Linked DNA regions of Homo sapiens: regions 1, 2 and 3 are each linked to region 4. Evidence: promoter capture Hi-C in human tissues and cell types (Jung and others, 2019). All regions are on one chromosome and are shown on one strand. The core of a region is centred on a gene start or on the middle of the fragment in contact, and the rest is flanking DNA. Distances in the headings are between cores, read along the strand shown.

Region 1 (3,441 bases), core at 443-2,942, 570 kb before region 4:
TGCCCCTCCACAAATATCCTACCTCGAAGTGAGTTTTCTCACATAATAAATAGCTTTATCTCTTCTGCTTATTTTGAAGACTTGTTGAGAATTTCAAATGAGCTAATGTATTTGAAGTTGCAATGAAACCCTCAAGTGAAATGCAAGGGTATTATAAGATTTTATCCCTAAAGGAAACCACAGGGAAGCATATTTTATAAAATGCTGTATTATGTAAAATTGTGCAAGTGAGAGGAATTTCATGAGGAAGGGAAGAACGAGATGCCCAACCCCCTAAAAGGAATGACCGACTTGTTTCAATCTCTCTCAAGAAAGCACATGCTGGCAAGAGGAGGCATGTTCTGAGCAAGCTGCACTTGTCTGCCCTTCAGAGGGTCTCCCAAAACTTGCCGTTGAGTTTCATTCCATGACTATGAACTTCTTAACTCTGCTAAATGAAAGTGACCAACACCAGTATCCTTATCTGGAAATCACCTGTTAGTGATTGTAGCAGTTTCTTTCTACCAAATATAAACCAGTAAGTAGATAGATAAATAGATATAGACAAATGCTGAGAAACAAATCTGATATTGCAACTTTGAGCTTTAGTAGCTTCTAGCTCAAGGTAGTTGATCTTAACACCATGCTTAACATGGAGGACACTTCGCAAAATATTTGTTCCTTGAATCAAGTCTTTTGTGGCTGATCTGGGTTGCTTTATTTTTTTTTAAAGAACTTGAAACGAAGCAGAGTTATAACTTCAATTTACTCCAAAGTGTGAGGTATTATTTTGGAGAAAAATAGCTATTGGAGAGTGAAAACTACCTAGCTGAAGAGTAAATGGCCTTTGAGATCAGACAGATAAGAGCTATGGAAGCAGGGAGAGTGATTATGCAAGTAAAGGAAGGTAAGCAAAAGTGGAATTTAAGATGCGGTGTGTGTTTTCCTCCACAGACTGAAGCGGCTCTGATGTACGATGCTGTGTACATGGTGGCCATTGCCTCGCACCGGGCATCCCAGCTGACCGTCAGCTCCCTGCAGTGCCATAGACATAAGCCATGGCGCCTCGGACCCAGATTTATGAACCTGATCAAAGAGGCAAGTGATGCTCCCTCACAGCCCAGGGGCCCTTCTGAGCACTGTTGGGCTTGCCCATTTGGTATGGTCCTCCCCACAGGGTTCTGCTGGCATGATGCCCCTAAGAGAGAGGAAGCCATCATCAACCAGTCTGCTCAGATTTCAGTGTCAAAAGTTTGTCCAGAAGGACTAGCAGGAATTTTCCATTGTGATGCTGAGAAGTTCAGTGACGCTACCAGATACCAACACTTACTCTCCTTCATGCCAGCCATGGCCATAGCTCCTGCTGGCTCTCCACACATGTCCATAAGGGCATATGGGTGTTTCTTCCATGTCCCACTGAGTCAAGGGGAGAGTTGATCCATTACTGAAGGGTACCAGAGATAGTTCCAGCATTATCAGTCCACAATCCCAGTGGCCTCCTAAAGCTCAGGCTGTACAGGACTGAGTGGAAGGACCTCTTTAATTATATAGTGACTATTTTGTCATTTATCAGCTAACTGGAAAAGTTTATTCCCATTCAAAACCTACTGAGCACATAAAAGATTTTTGAGAGTATGGGGTATTTGCAGGGATAGATATCTTCACTGATGTCCTGGGATCCTGGACTGTCCTCCACCTTTTCTTTTCTCTGAGGCAGTTTGACTCCTTGTCACAAGGCCCTGTTCTAAGCCCCGTGACTCCTTATCGATATGTACACTGCATGATCATCCATTCCACCACGAACCTCAGGGTGTGTCTGGACTTGATGATAAGAAATAAGGCTCTTTGGAGTAGCTAGGCCTGAGTATGCGCAATGCTCTGAGATGCTATTCTAATATTTCTCTATGGGATACAGACATTTAGTTCTCAAGTGAAGAGTATTTTTTTCCTTTCTGTACTGGAGAAGGATGGAAATATAGTGTAAAGAAGAGGGAGGGCACAGGAGAATACCCAGCTAAGAGTAAGGAAAGACACCTGCTTTGGACTCGTGTCTCTGCTGGTCTCTTCCATGCCTGCACACCCTCTCTCAGTCTGTTCAATGCAACTAAAGGCTGACTCTGATCCATGAGGGTGAGGATAAAGCAGGCGGGATGTATAAGGATTAAGTACCTAGGCTACAAATCTAGGTTGCTTGCAAGCCCAGGATGAGGGTGCAATTTAAGGAAACATTCATTCTTGGGTGAGTATTCTATACTTGCACAAGATTAAGAGGAAATTCTCGCTTAAATTTTGTACCCTGAGCACCTCTCTTACTTTATCCTAGTCCTGGCAGTGACTGCATGGGTTTAAATCTTAGTTCCACTAACACTGATGAGCAATATAACCTGGGCAAGTCTATTGGTCCATTTTCATGCTGCTGATAAAGACATACCTGAGACTGGGTAATTTATAAAGAAAAAGAGGTTTAATGGACTCACAGTTCCACGTGGCTGAGGAGGCCTCACAATCATGGCGGAAAGTGAAAGGCATGTCTACATGGTGGCAGGCAAGAGAAAACTTGTGCAGGGAAAATCCCATTTATAAAACCATCAGATTTCATGAGACTTATTCGCTATCACGAGAACAGCATGGGAAGACTTGCCTCCATGATTCAATTACCTGCTACTGGGTCCCTCCCACAACACATGGGAATTGTGGGAGCTACAATTCGAGATGAGATTTGGGTGGGGACACACCAAAACCATATCAGCAAGTTACTTACACTTCTTGTCTCTCAGTTTTCTTATCTATAAGATGGGTATAGTATCATCTACCCCACAGCATGACTGTAAGGATAAAGAATTAGGCAAATGCTTGTGAAGAATAGTTCAGAAACCTAGTAAGCATCTGAAATACTATTCTCTTGCCATTGGAAGGCACCACTAAGAATAGCCTCATTCAGTTTACTGAAGATGATACCAGGAATTTCAAACTGGCAACAACAACAACAACAACAAAGACATCACAAATAGGCATGAAACAAAATACCTTTTCTGACAGCTACATAACTCTGACACACTGTGCCTAATAGAAAAACATCACACCACCTCCTTTTCCCTGCAGTGATCATGGTTGTGTCCTGAATCGCCATCCTGATTACCTTGATCTTTAACAAGAAAACAGCTGGTTTTCTTTTATCTCCTAGAAGTTCAAGGAGAGGCAGAAGTGACATGAAAGCTTGGGATCAAACACTCAAGAGCCCCCAAGACACCTTATCACTTGTACTTAAGTCGCATAAGAAGGTGAAATTACCAAGCCACATTTAGGCATATTTAAAGAAATAATGAGCTCCAAGATGAGGGACCACACTGAAAATAAGAAGGCATTTTATATTCATTCACTCCAAAGAAGCAAATCTCTCATTTTTAATCTCCACAGTTAGGGGTTACAGGAAGGGAGGGGGGAATGAATCAGAAACCATTG
Region 2 (3,532 bases), core at 441-2,940, 810 kb before region 4:
TTTCCTTTGAAGCAAGTTTTCTAAGACAATATCTTTCACTAAAATTCTAAATGGCAAATAGGTGCTGTATTTAATCAAGGGCTAAATTCTATTCCTTCACTCCCACCAATTCTATATCACAAGATTTTTTTGCAGATCTCTAGGAAGGAATTTATTTTTCTTACGTTAAGAAAAAATAATTCCATCCATCTGAGTCCCACTGTAAACCAACTACAGCTAGGTCAGGGTTGTGGTATGAGAAGAGAACTTTTAATATGCCTATATTTAGTTAAAAACCATCTAGCAAAGGCTTAGAAGAAGAAGTTGAAGACTATTTAACCATACAACGTCCATTGCCCTGACATGAAACTCTGACATACATATGAACATTCATGAAAGCAAATCCACGGTCAACACAATAAATACCCTGATTTGATCATTATACAATATATGTATGTATTGAAACATCACATTATCACATTTTTGCTCAATAAATATGCATAATTACAATGTGTCCATTAAAAAGTAGTTTTTAAAATGCAGCTCATTCTCATTTACTCAAGGAGACCTAAAATATGGAGATTTTTCCAATAATGAAAATAATATTGAAATGTTTCATTTGGGATTAGAATCTTTTATGGAACAGTTTTGAGCAACATCGTCACCAAGTGAACCAGTATCTGTGTGATTTGGGAACTTTTTCTGGATAGCTCTGTGGGTGAACACTGGATGTCTGTTGAAGATTCCCTTCCAGCAATTAAGTAATCATAACTTTATGCATGTAGCTATAGTGAGAGATTAAAATTAAGAGGTTTAGTGTCAGTTTTAACTAGTCAAGTTACTTAATTTCTAAATCTCCGTTGTCTCGTCTTGAAGGTGGAGATAATAACTACTTTAAGTAAAGCATGTAGCACAATAGCTGATAATCTATGTTTTCAGTTATTACTAGTAATGCAATGTAGCTCAGAAATCCACAAACTTTATCTGTTAGGTTAGAAACATTGGCACCCACTTTCATGTTTTCTTATGTTTTACGTCATCAAATGGCAAACTGAGAGATGAACATGGCCATCAAGTAACTCTCTCCCTGACTTAGTAATTTCCTTTCTGTTTCCCTGTCCATAATACAAAGAGTCGGGGGTGGGAGTAGAGGGACGAAAGTCCTCATATGGAAAAAAATACAACCAACCTGTTCTTCCTCTTGACCATACTTAGAGAAATGGTAAGTAGACTCTGGTTAATTCAAAAACATTTTACGATAGGATAGTAAAATGAGATTTGTTTTAAAAATTACTCTGGAAAAAGGATTTATAATGGACAAATGTATATATTTAGAAGATTAGACCATATCTTGGCATCTGGCTTTGTGAACCATACATGTTGGAAAACTTAACCCTCTGCCTGTTCTTTCAACTTCCATTAAATATAATATGTTTGCTCATAGCAGCTTATCGAACAGTGATATGGGCAGGTAACAGAACCATACTACAAAGAAAAATTATTTAACAGTAGACAATGTGTTTCCCTGTATAAAATGGAGCAGCACATGGGAGTCAAGATTTCTGTCTACCTCCTTTCTTATCAATAGATTACATAAAGCATCCCCCCCTTCTTTTTAGGAAGAGTCAGAGTGGAAAAGGACTTCAATATCTCAGGCCTGAAGGAAACCTGTTGAAGCCTGTCGGGTTTTCTTTGATTGGTTTTCTCTTAGGTATTTTCTTTCTAATTATTCTGTGGTTTCACTGGTATTCACTGCAGAATATAGCTATTCTGTGCTGGGAGATTTTGAAATGTGTCTGTTCTAATTTTCTTGCAATGAGAAAAAAAAGAAAGTGGACTTTGAGAAAAAACACATAAATATTTTTAAATTTTAAACTATCATTGTAAACCAGTCTTTCCATTCCCATTCAGAATGTCACAGGATTATAGTCTGATTTCTTTATAACCTGATACCTGATAACACTGATGCCTTCCTGGGTGTCTTGAGTGTGTCTACAGAAGATCCTGATTTGGAAGGTCTAATAAGCTTTTATATTTCATTTTTATTTTTTCTATTTGGAAGGAAAATGTGCACCACTTGCTTTGTGGCAAACAGGGGACCTCAGAGGCTGATATTAAGAACTCTCTGCTTGTTAGTTATGACTTTCTTTCCTGAAACAACCAATAGTCAGTCTCGCTGAGTGACTTAATGAAGTAAAACCATTGCAAATCTATATACTTGAGAATTCTTTACTTGCTAAAGGTCAAATGTGAAGCCATTATTTTTATTTGACTCACCAGCCTCTATTGCACTTATTATCAGTTCTAATACTGTTTCATAGAACCACAAGAGTTTATAAAGTAAATTTAAATGGTTGCTGAAAGTTAGATAACTAGAAATATTTTGTAGAATATACAAATACATTTTCCTACTTCCCGATATCTGAAAACCACTAAATGGGTTAAGTTACCTTCCAAATATATTAAATACTGCTTCCAGATGAGCATGACATTGTTGAATTAGTATTGGATTGAGTCCCTCAGGTATTAGCAACAGACAAGCCACGATTCCATGAACACAGAACTATGTTAAAGCCTGAAGGAGGTAATGACTAAGGTTAAAGCTGGACTTCTGGTTTCAAGGACCTTGGGGGCTGGTTGGAAAGAAAAAGTAATTAGACATCAAGAAAGTAAAGCAAGTTGCAGCCCCTGGTTATTAGTATAAAAATAAATAAGGAAAAGAGAGCTCTGTATAGATCGTGGTAGATAGAGAATGCTTCATGGAGGAGGCCAATGTTCAGTTAAGACTTAAAGGATAAACAAGAATTTCATGTGTGGAGAAATAGAAACAAACTTTCCAGGCTCATTCAATTACTCATGCACTTTTGCCTAGCACTTATTTACCTAGGCCAGGGAATATGCATGTGAGATAATTCTCTGTTCCCAAGGACCCTCATTTCGGTTCTGTGAATTTGATAAGCTTTTTCCCTTTGTAAGTTCTTTGCGCATGATATTCCAACTACATTGCTTTGGATTCTTCCCCATCATGAGCTGCTTCTTCCAGGCGTCAAACCACACATTGGAGTGTCATTGTGAGAGCACAGAATTCAGAGGGAGACATCATGAGCAATTCTTACCCACCAGCCCTCCTTTCTTCCCACATTCTTCTCAATCGTGGAGTATTTCTACCACTAGAACCATTTCTTCAATGACAGAAGGAAAGGGAATAAACCAGAAGGAAATAGGCAATAGAAGGTTCTATATTAGTAAATGTTAAAACGTTTAAAAATACATTAAGTATGGGCCAAACTCTTTTAAAAGTCAAAAAAGGGGTACCTAGGAATAATATGGTAGTCATCAGGGAACCATGGAATTAATGGAATGTGGAGGATAGAAATGAAACCACAAAACTCATTTTCCAAACAGTAAAACCACCCAAAAGTCCCATCTCTTCCTAAACGGACAACAAATGCCTGTTATGGCCTTTTTTTGATGTCATTATTTATTGTTACTGTTGTTTGTTTGTTTGTTTAATTTGTCTCTGTTCTGATCTGTGAAGGCTTTGCCTCAGATA
Region 3 (3,454 bases), core at 820-3,319, 720 kb before region 4:
AAATGGAATTAATTTAGCATCGATCTCTCTCAGCCTCTCTCCAATCTTCACTCCTACCTCCACCAAACACAGCATCTAACCAAACCAACCACCAAGTAAAGCAAGCCAGCCAGGTGATGTCTTCGGACTATATAGTGTCATTTTTAACCCACCAATGTTTAAGGAGAATTAATATACAGAGTCCCTAGAATTTGTCAGCACGTTAATACTGCTTTGAGCAACCCAAAGAGGCTTTGGACATGCCGAGGAGTATTTGGAGACAGGAATTGAGAGGAAAGTGGACTTTGAAAAGTGTTTCTTTTAATGTTCTTTGAAATCACTCTAAAATTCTTTGAGAAATGCAGGTAATGAATGAAGGATTTTTAAAAGGCACTGTGGTAGTTGTCTTGCTTTTCTTTCTTCAATTTAATGTGATACAATGTTAAGACTGGAATTCACTTGGAGTTCTCATATTTATTCAAATTGCAGAATTTTAGGGAAAAATTTGAACAACTAAATCATCTTAGGGCTCTAAGCTATATAGTTGTAAGAAAAAGAACTTGTGTGTTTAAAGTTATGCTAAACTACTTAGCACTACTTACATTAAAGTAATGAACGATAATCCTGGAGTACGTAGTAGAGTTAAATTTTATCCATCCTATTGTTAGCTTTTTCAGTGAGGTCACCAATAAAACCTAAATTGAGAATCTGGTAAGTCATTACTTCCCATTCGCCTAAGAATTTTTAGCAGCAGTATCCTTGGATGTTCAGAGGATAGACCTAATAAAGCTTATTATCAGGTTGGATCAATGCAAGACAGACAGCCAAGTATATTATAAAAGACAGTAGATAGAAAGGATCTTTAATAAATAAAGTCAATTTCTTCCAGTCGGTATTCAGGACTCATCATGTTGAGTAGATGCCACCTATTCTCTATAATTTGTTTTAGAAGTACTCTGGGGACTTACATATGAGTACAAAACAAAAGAAGAAAACATACTCATTGGGACTAAAAACCAACAAACTGAAAAACAGACTTTATTTGTTTTTCATCACTGAAGAAAGAGCTGAATTTCATGAAGAGTGTAGGATGCAGTATCTACTCAGAGGAGGCAATAATAAAGGGATGATTGGGCATTGCAGGAGGAAACCTCATCTAGTGGGAGAAAACGTTGTACTTTTTTGATAAAAGAAATCTAGGCGGGACATTGTTAAAGAAAAATGACAAGCTCAGGCATTGTGTTGCTCTTCATGTAGAACTCTACAACTTTTAAATGGAACTGTTCTTTTCAAGGTGATCAAAAATTAGTGAAGAATTTTGCCTACTATCCTTGCAAATTCAACATTTTTATTATATTGACAAATGCAACTAATTACATATATGTCATAGATTAACTATAAATAAATTACGAGGCTGTGTGATGGAATTATTTTGTCCAGGCAGGAATTTGTGAATGGGTGAAAACTGAGAGGGTGCATATATAATACACAGCTTCCCCGTATACATTGGCTTCAATGTCTCTACATCTCTCCACTCCAGGAATAGATTTGTAGTATAATCAACTAGAAACAGAAGCCAAATATCACTGTTCATGGCAGCCTGTCACATCAGGAATTCATTTGTACACATGACAACTCCTCCATCTCAGAACCGTGGGTGAGAAAGGCCTGATTGGCAGCAATTATTCTCTGGCCACTGATGCTTTCTGCGTGGCTTCCTCAGACCTTCCTCCCATGCACAAAGACATAAAGTATACCAGAAACATTTTTCACACAGGCTTAAGAAAATGATTGCAGCCTTTCCCCACATAGTACAAAAGGTCAGTGTATCTCTGAGCTTCATTCCTCTTTTTTTTGCAGGTAAGGACACTGTCTTGCTGGCAGCTTGATAGCCGCTACCTGATTTCCTGATAATAGGAAAGTTTCACCTTCTGCTATGGCTATTTAAAATGTTTACTTTTGTACTAACGCATTAGAAACCAACTAAATTCTGTGGGTTTTTCTTTTTTTTTTTTCTGTTGTTTGTTTGTTTGTTTGCTTTTGAGACAGAGTCTCCCTCTGTCACCCAGGCTGGAGGGCAGTGGTGTGATCTCAGCTCACTGAAACCTCTTCCTCCCCAGTTCAAGTGATTCTCCTACTTCAGCTTCTCGAGTAGCTGGGATAACAGACATGCACCACCACACCCAACTAGTTTTTGTATTTTTAGTAGAGATGGGGTTTCACCATGTTGGCCAGGCTGGTCTCGAACTTTTGGCCTCAAGTGATCTGCTCACCTCGGCCTCCCAAAGTGCTGGGATTACAGGTGTGAGCTACCTCACCCATCCCAAATTCTGTTTTAATGTTGGTTTAGATGTAGCTTTGTTAACTATGTATAATAATGGAAACCAAGAAAAAAACAGATACGCTGCACTTCTTATAATAGAGATCAGATCAATTGCTGAGTGCCTAAAGTTACAAAATAGCTTACATAATATTTTATATGATACGCAATAGAATATATAATGTATAATATATTATACAGATATAATTTCTGTAATTAAAATTATATAATCTCAATGGTGAAAATTAACAATTAAAATATAACAATAAACTTGACCTGTATCAGTTATCATTAAATTGATTGGGGCAGTTTAGGTCTTTCTCCAAATTTTACTTTGGTCTCCATTCATTAAATGGACATTAACTAGGGACTTCAAAGACCCAAGAACCACACTCAGCCTTGGGGATAGAATGAAGACTAAGAGATGATGACTGCTGTCAGCATTAATTTCTTCCACATTATTTAGCCCACTAAGAATGAGATATAATTCAAATTTCTGAAACTTGTAGATGTGTGGACACATTTTCATAAACTTTCTTAATAAATAGGCCTGCAATGACAAAATGCACACAAAATTTTGAATATGTAATAACTGAGTCCTATCCTTTATTTCAAGAGACAAAGCTAAGAATTAGAAACATAAACAAATTGTGTCCATCTTAAGGGTGATAATGTACAAATGTGGCCATTTCCAGTAGTCATGGAGTAGGCAAATGAATTGAAGAAGTATGATTTTGACAACCCTGGACAGCATTAGAAGCTCATTGTCCAAATATGAGACAAGTTAGACAGACTTACAAGCAGAAAAAAAGAAAAAGTTGATAGCCTCACTATCAAAAGAAAAGATTCATGATATGCAACTCTCTTGCTAGCAAGTAAAAAAGAGGAAATACATTAAATTATTAGAAAATGTTAAAAGTAATGAGCCTTTATCTGTTCACAGAGTCATCAAAAGTTATTTCTGTGTAGGAAGTGTCAAGTAGCATGGATAAAGAGTATTCGGGAAATTCTTTAGTTGTGGTCTTGAAGACTGTTGAAATTATTAGCATCTGAGAAACTATTATAAAAAAAGTTTACATTAATTCAGGTGGAGCAATATGGGGCAATAGGATAAGAAAGGAGTAATAATATTGGTCTAATGTGTGGAGAAAATGA
Region 4 (3,262 bases), core at 225-2,724:
TACCTGAGACTGGGTAATTTATAAAGAAAAGAGGTTTAATTGGCTCACAGTTCCACAGGCGGTACAGGAAGCATGGCTGGGGAAGCCTCAGGAAGCTGACAATCAAGGTGGAAGGTGAAGGGGAAGCAGACACATCCTACAAGGCTGGAGGAGGAGGAAGAGACAGAGTGGGGAGGTGCCACACACTTTTAAACAACCAGGTCTTATGAGAAGTCACTCACTATCACAAGAACAGCTGGGGATTATAATTCCACATCATATTTGGGCAGGCAATTCAAACATATCAGTGGCATTTACATTTTTGCAAAAATCCAAACCATATCAGTGGCATTTACATTTTTGCAATTTTTTTTTTTTTTTGAGACAGGGCCTCACTCTTGCCCAGGCTGGAGTGCAGTGGCATGATCTCAGCTCACTGCTGCCTCAACCTCCCAGGCTCAAGCAGATCCTCCAACCTTAGCCTCCCAAGCAGCTGAGACTACAGGTGCATGCCACCAAGCCAAAGGGATTTATATTTATCTATAAATTCATATATAAATCAGATATATTTATATAAAATGTGTATATTATATATATAAATCAGATAAATAAATATGTATTTATATCTGATCTTAAAAGAGTAAAAGGGATTTATATTCCCAGGAAGAAGTAGAAAAGAGGAATATAGATAGTGGTTAAGAACCGGCATTTTGCAATAAGTCTGATCTAGATAGGAATTCTAGCTTTAATATTTACTAGCTCTGTGATCTTGGGAAAATTATTTACAGTTTGTGAACTTCAGTTTCCCTTCTACAAAATAGAGACAGTACCATTTAATTTTTAATTTTTAATGGTATCGTCTCCATTTTATGGAAGGAAAACTAAATGGTATTTTAACCGACAATTCATTAATTTTTAAGACTGACCATTAACAGAGATACTGCATGTAAAGCAGATCACACAGAATATGGCACACTTGAGCACTTGATGTGTACTACATTACTCTTAGTGACGACTTTAATTATCGTGCGCATTCCCAGCGCTTCCTATGGTGCCCAACACAGAGCGGACGCCTAGAGACAATTTTGGGGGATGGGGCAGATGCTCTGCCTCGGGAAAAAAAAAGCACACCTGCCCTGACGTTGGTGGCTGGGTCTGGAAGATACGTGGAAATTAAGCTAAGGATGTGTGGCTTCCAGATCAAAAACCGCAAAAATCTAACGCCGTGACTACTGACTACGGTCAGAGAGCACAGACTGGAGCAACCTCTCACGGCCTGGGCTGTCTGCGCGTGCGTGAGCCAGAAACCCGAGGGGCTCCCTGGGCCCGCCCTATCGATCGACCCGATCGGGGATCGTCAGCTTGGTTCTGGCCACAGAGGTTGCTCTTCTCGCGATGCTTCAGACCTGGCGGCAGGGAAAGGGTGGGCTAATTGGAGAGCCAGGAAGAGCGTGAGGCGGCCCCACGCTGCTTTCCCAGAAGGCTGTGCGTGCTCCTCGCTTCCTCCGCGGTCTTCCGAGCGGTCGCGTGAACTGCTTCCTGCAGGCTGGCCATGGCGCTTCACGTTCCCAAGGCTCCGGGCTTTGCCCAGATGCTCAAGGAGGGAGCGAAAGTAAGGGCTGAAGGAAAGGAATGAGGTGGGAGCGTCAGCATAGGGCTGCGGCGGCCGCGGCGAAGTAGGAGGGCCTACTAACGGGCTGAGCGTGCTGCCCTGGCTCAGCGGCCGGGGGAAGAGAAGATTCCAGAAAGGGAGGTGATTTTGGAAGGGCTCGGCCACCGGAGCCTGCGGGCACTTCTCTTCTTCCGCGACCGGGAGAAGGCCGAGGGATCGGCGGCACGATCGACATTGTACACCTTGAAGGTGGACGGATGTGAAGCCGCGCGTGCGTTTTGCCTCCATCCGTAAATGGGGCTAAGGCCCGTCACCCTTAAAGGAGGTTGTGAGGGTGAAATTGAATAACGTAGATGAAATTGTCTTGAGAACTGCGACGTCGATTATCACATAGCTCGCGAGTTGTAGGATGGGGAAGAACGAGAACTAGCCGATCCAGAGAAGAGAGTGGGAAAAAGGGCCGGGTCTTGGTTGCTTGCTTCCCAGTGAGAAACATACGGCTTTCAGCTTAGTTGACAGAAGCCATGCGTTGTAGCCAAATGAGTTCCGGTCCCAACTTATGTTAGCTGGCTTAATCTAAAATGTAACTTTCTTGGGTTTTGTTTCCTTCGTCTTTAAATTATGGAGATTGGACCAAGAGGTGGTGTCTTTGAGTTCTGTGTAATCTGCAGGATAAGTGATAGAGGGGTGCAGATAACACTTTTGTTTAATGGCCTTTTCTTGAACGTTAGTTCGGTAGCATAGTTTTAAAAAATATCTTACTGCACTATTGATAAATTTGTCTCTTGTGCTATTCAAATTGCATTCCTCTGTGTGTCCTCCAGATTTTGTTAATTCAAGAAATAGATCAGTGTGGTTGAATTTAAGGTTTTATGCGAGGTACGGGGAGCATTAACAGTTTAATAGAACTAGGTTCATGTTTGTAGGATGCACTTTTCAAATAATGTCGGTATAGTAAGTAAATGTCAGGGTTCAAGGTAAATGTTGGTGGAATAATCTTTTGAAAATGATATGGGCTGATTCCCTTGAAAAAATCAGGCTGAGATAATAGCTTCCAATTTGGGTTTTTTTCACTAATACAGTTTTGGAAAACTCGTGTATCACAAAACATTATTTGTCATTCCAGTGCTAGTAGTTTTTTACAGAACACTGAGCTATTTCTTTCAATAAATAGGTACTGAAGGAACTGCAGTGAAAGACAAAAGTCCCATTTGTCGTAGAGTTTATGTCCTTCTAAGGCAGAAATAATGATTAAATAAAAGGAGAATTCCAAATAATGATGAAAGAAACTGCACTATAGTAGAGGATGACAGGAGGTAAAAATGTCTGTAAAAGAAGGATCAGGAATAGACAGAACACTTAGACGTTTAGGGAAGAACTCTTAGCTCAGTGCTTAGTGAGAGAAGCCCCTGAGCCTGGGCTGTTTCCCCCGACCTCTTACTTAGGGGGAAATGCCAGGCTCAGGGACTAACTAGTACAAAGACCCTGAGGAAGGAATGATTTTGACCTGTTTTTTTTTTAAAACAACAACAACAACAACAGGTTGTAGGGCTGAAGCTTACCAAAGAAAGGAAGAATGGTAAGTTCAGAGGAGGAGCCATACAAGGGCCGGGATACGTAGGGCCTTGTTTCCTTGAAAAGGGATTTGCATTTTATCCTAAGCTGGTTGGG

What was found. The method cuts DNA at HindIII sites, captures the fragments that hold promoters and counts their contacts. A contact is called where the count stands out against the background at its distance.
Region 1: a contact is called between a fragment that was not itself captured here and the fragment with the promoter of CCT8 in region 4, in 1 of the 25 tissues and cell types used here (lymphoblastoid cells).
Region 2: a contact is called between a fragment that was not itself captured here and the fragment with the promoter of CCT8 in region 4, in 1 of the 25 tissues and cell types used here (dorsolateral prefrontal cortex).
Region 3: a contact is called between a fragment that was not itself captured here and the fragment with the promoter of CCT8 in region 4, in 2 of the 25 tissues and cell types used here (lymphoblastoid cells and mesenchymal stem cells).

What each region holds. Positions count from the first base shown.
Region 1 is chr21:29,640,462-29,643,902 of GRCh38, reverse strand. GRIK1 (glutamate ionotropic receptor kainate type subunit 1) reads left to right here. Exons shown (of 18, transcript NM_001330994.2): 7 at 934-1,077. Among named protein-coding and RNA genes, the nearest start is that of GRIK1-AS3, 15 kb to the left of the region's middle. The HindIII fragment of the contact is 4,786 bases long and covers 1-3,441 here.
Region 2 is chr21:29,882,045-29,885,576 of GRCh38, reverse strand. The region is part of intron 1 of GRIK1 (glutamate ionotropic receptor kainate type subunit 1); the gene reads left to right. Among named protein-coding and RNA genes, the nearest start is that of GRIK1, 56 kb to the left of the region's middle. The HindIII fragment of the contact is 6,023 bases long and covers 1-3,532 here.
Region 3 is chr21:29,795,516-29,798,969 of GRCh38, reverse strand. The region is part of intron 1 of GRIK1 (glutamate ionotropic receptor kainate type subunit 1); the gene reads left to right. Among named protein-coding and RNA genes, the nearest start is that of GRIK1-AS1, 49 kb to the right of the region's middle. The HindIII fragment of the contact is 4,800 bases long and covers 1-3,454 here.
Region 4 is chr21:29,071,860-29,075,121 of GRCh38, reverse strand. It overlaps CCT8 (chaperonin containing TCP1 subunit 8), which reads left to right and starts at 1,474. Exons shown (of 15, transcript NM_006585.4): 1 at 1,474-1,591. The coding sequence starts at 1,532. RefSeq lists enhancers at 1,249-1,418, 579-1,490, 1,869-2,038, 1,491-2,402. The HindIII fragment of the contact is 6,058 bases long and covers 1-3,262 here.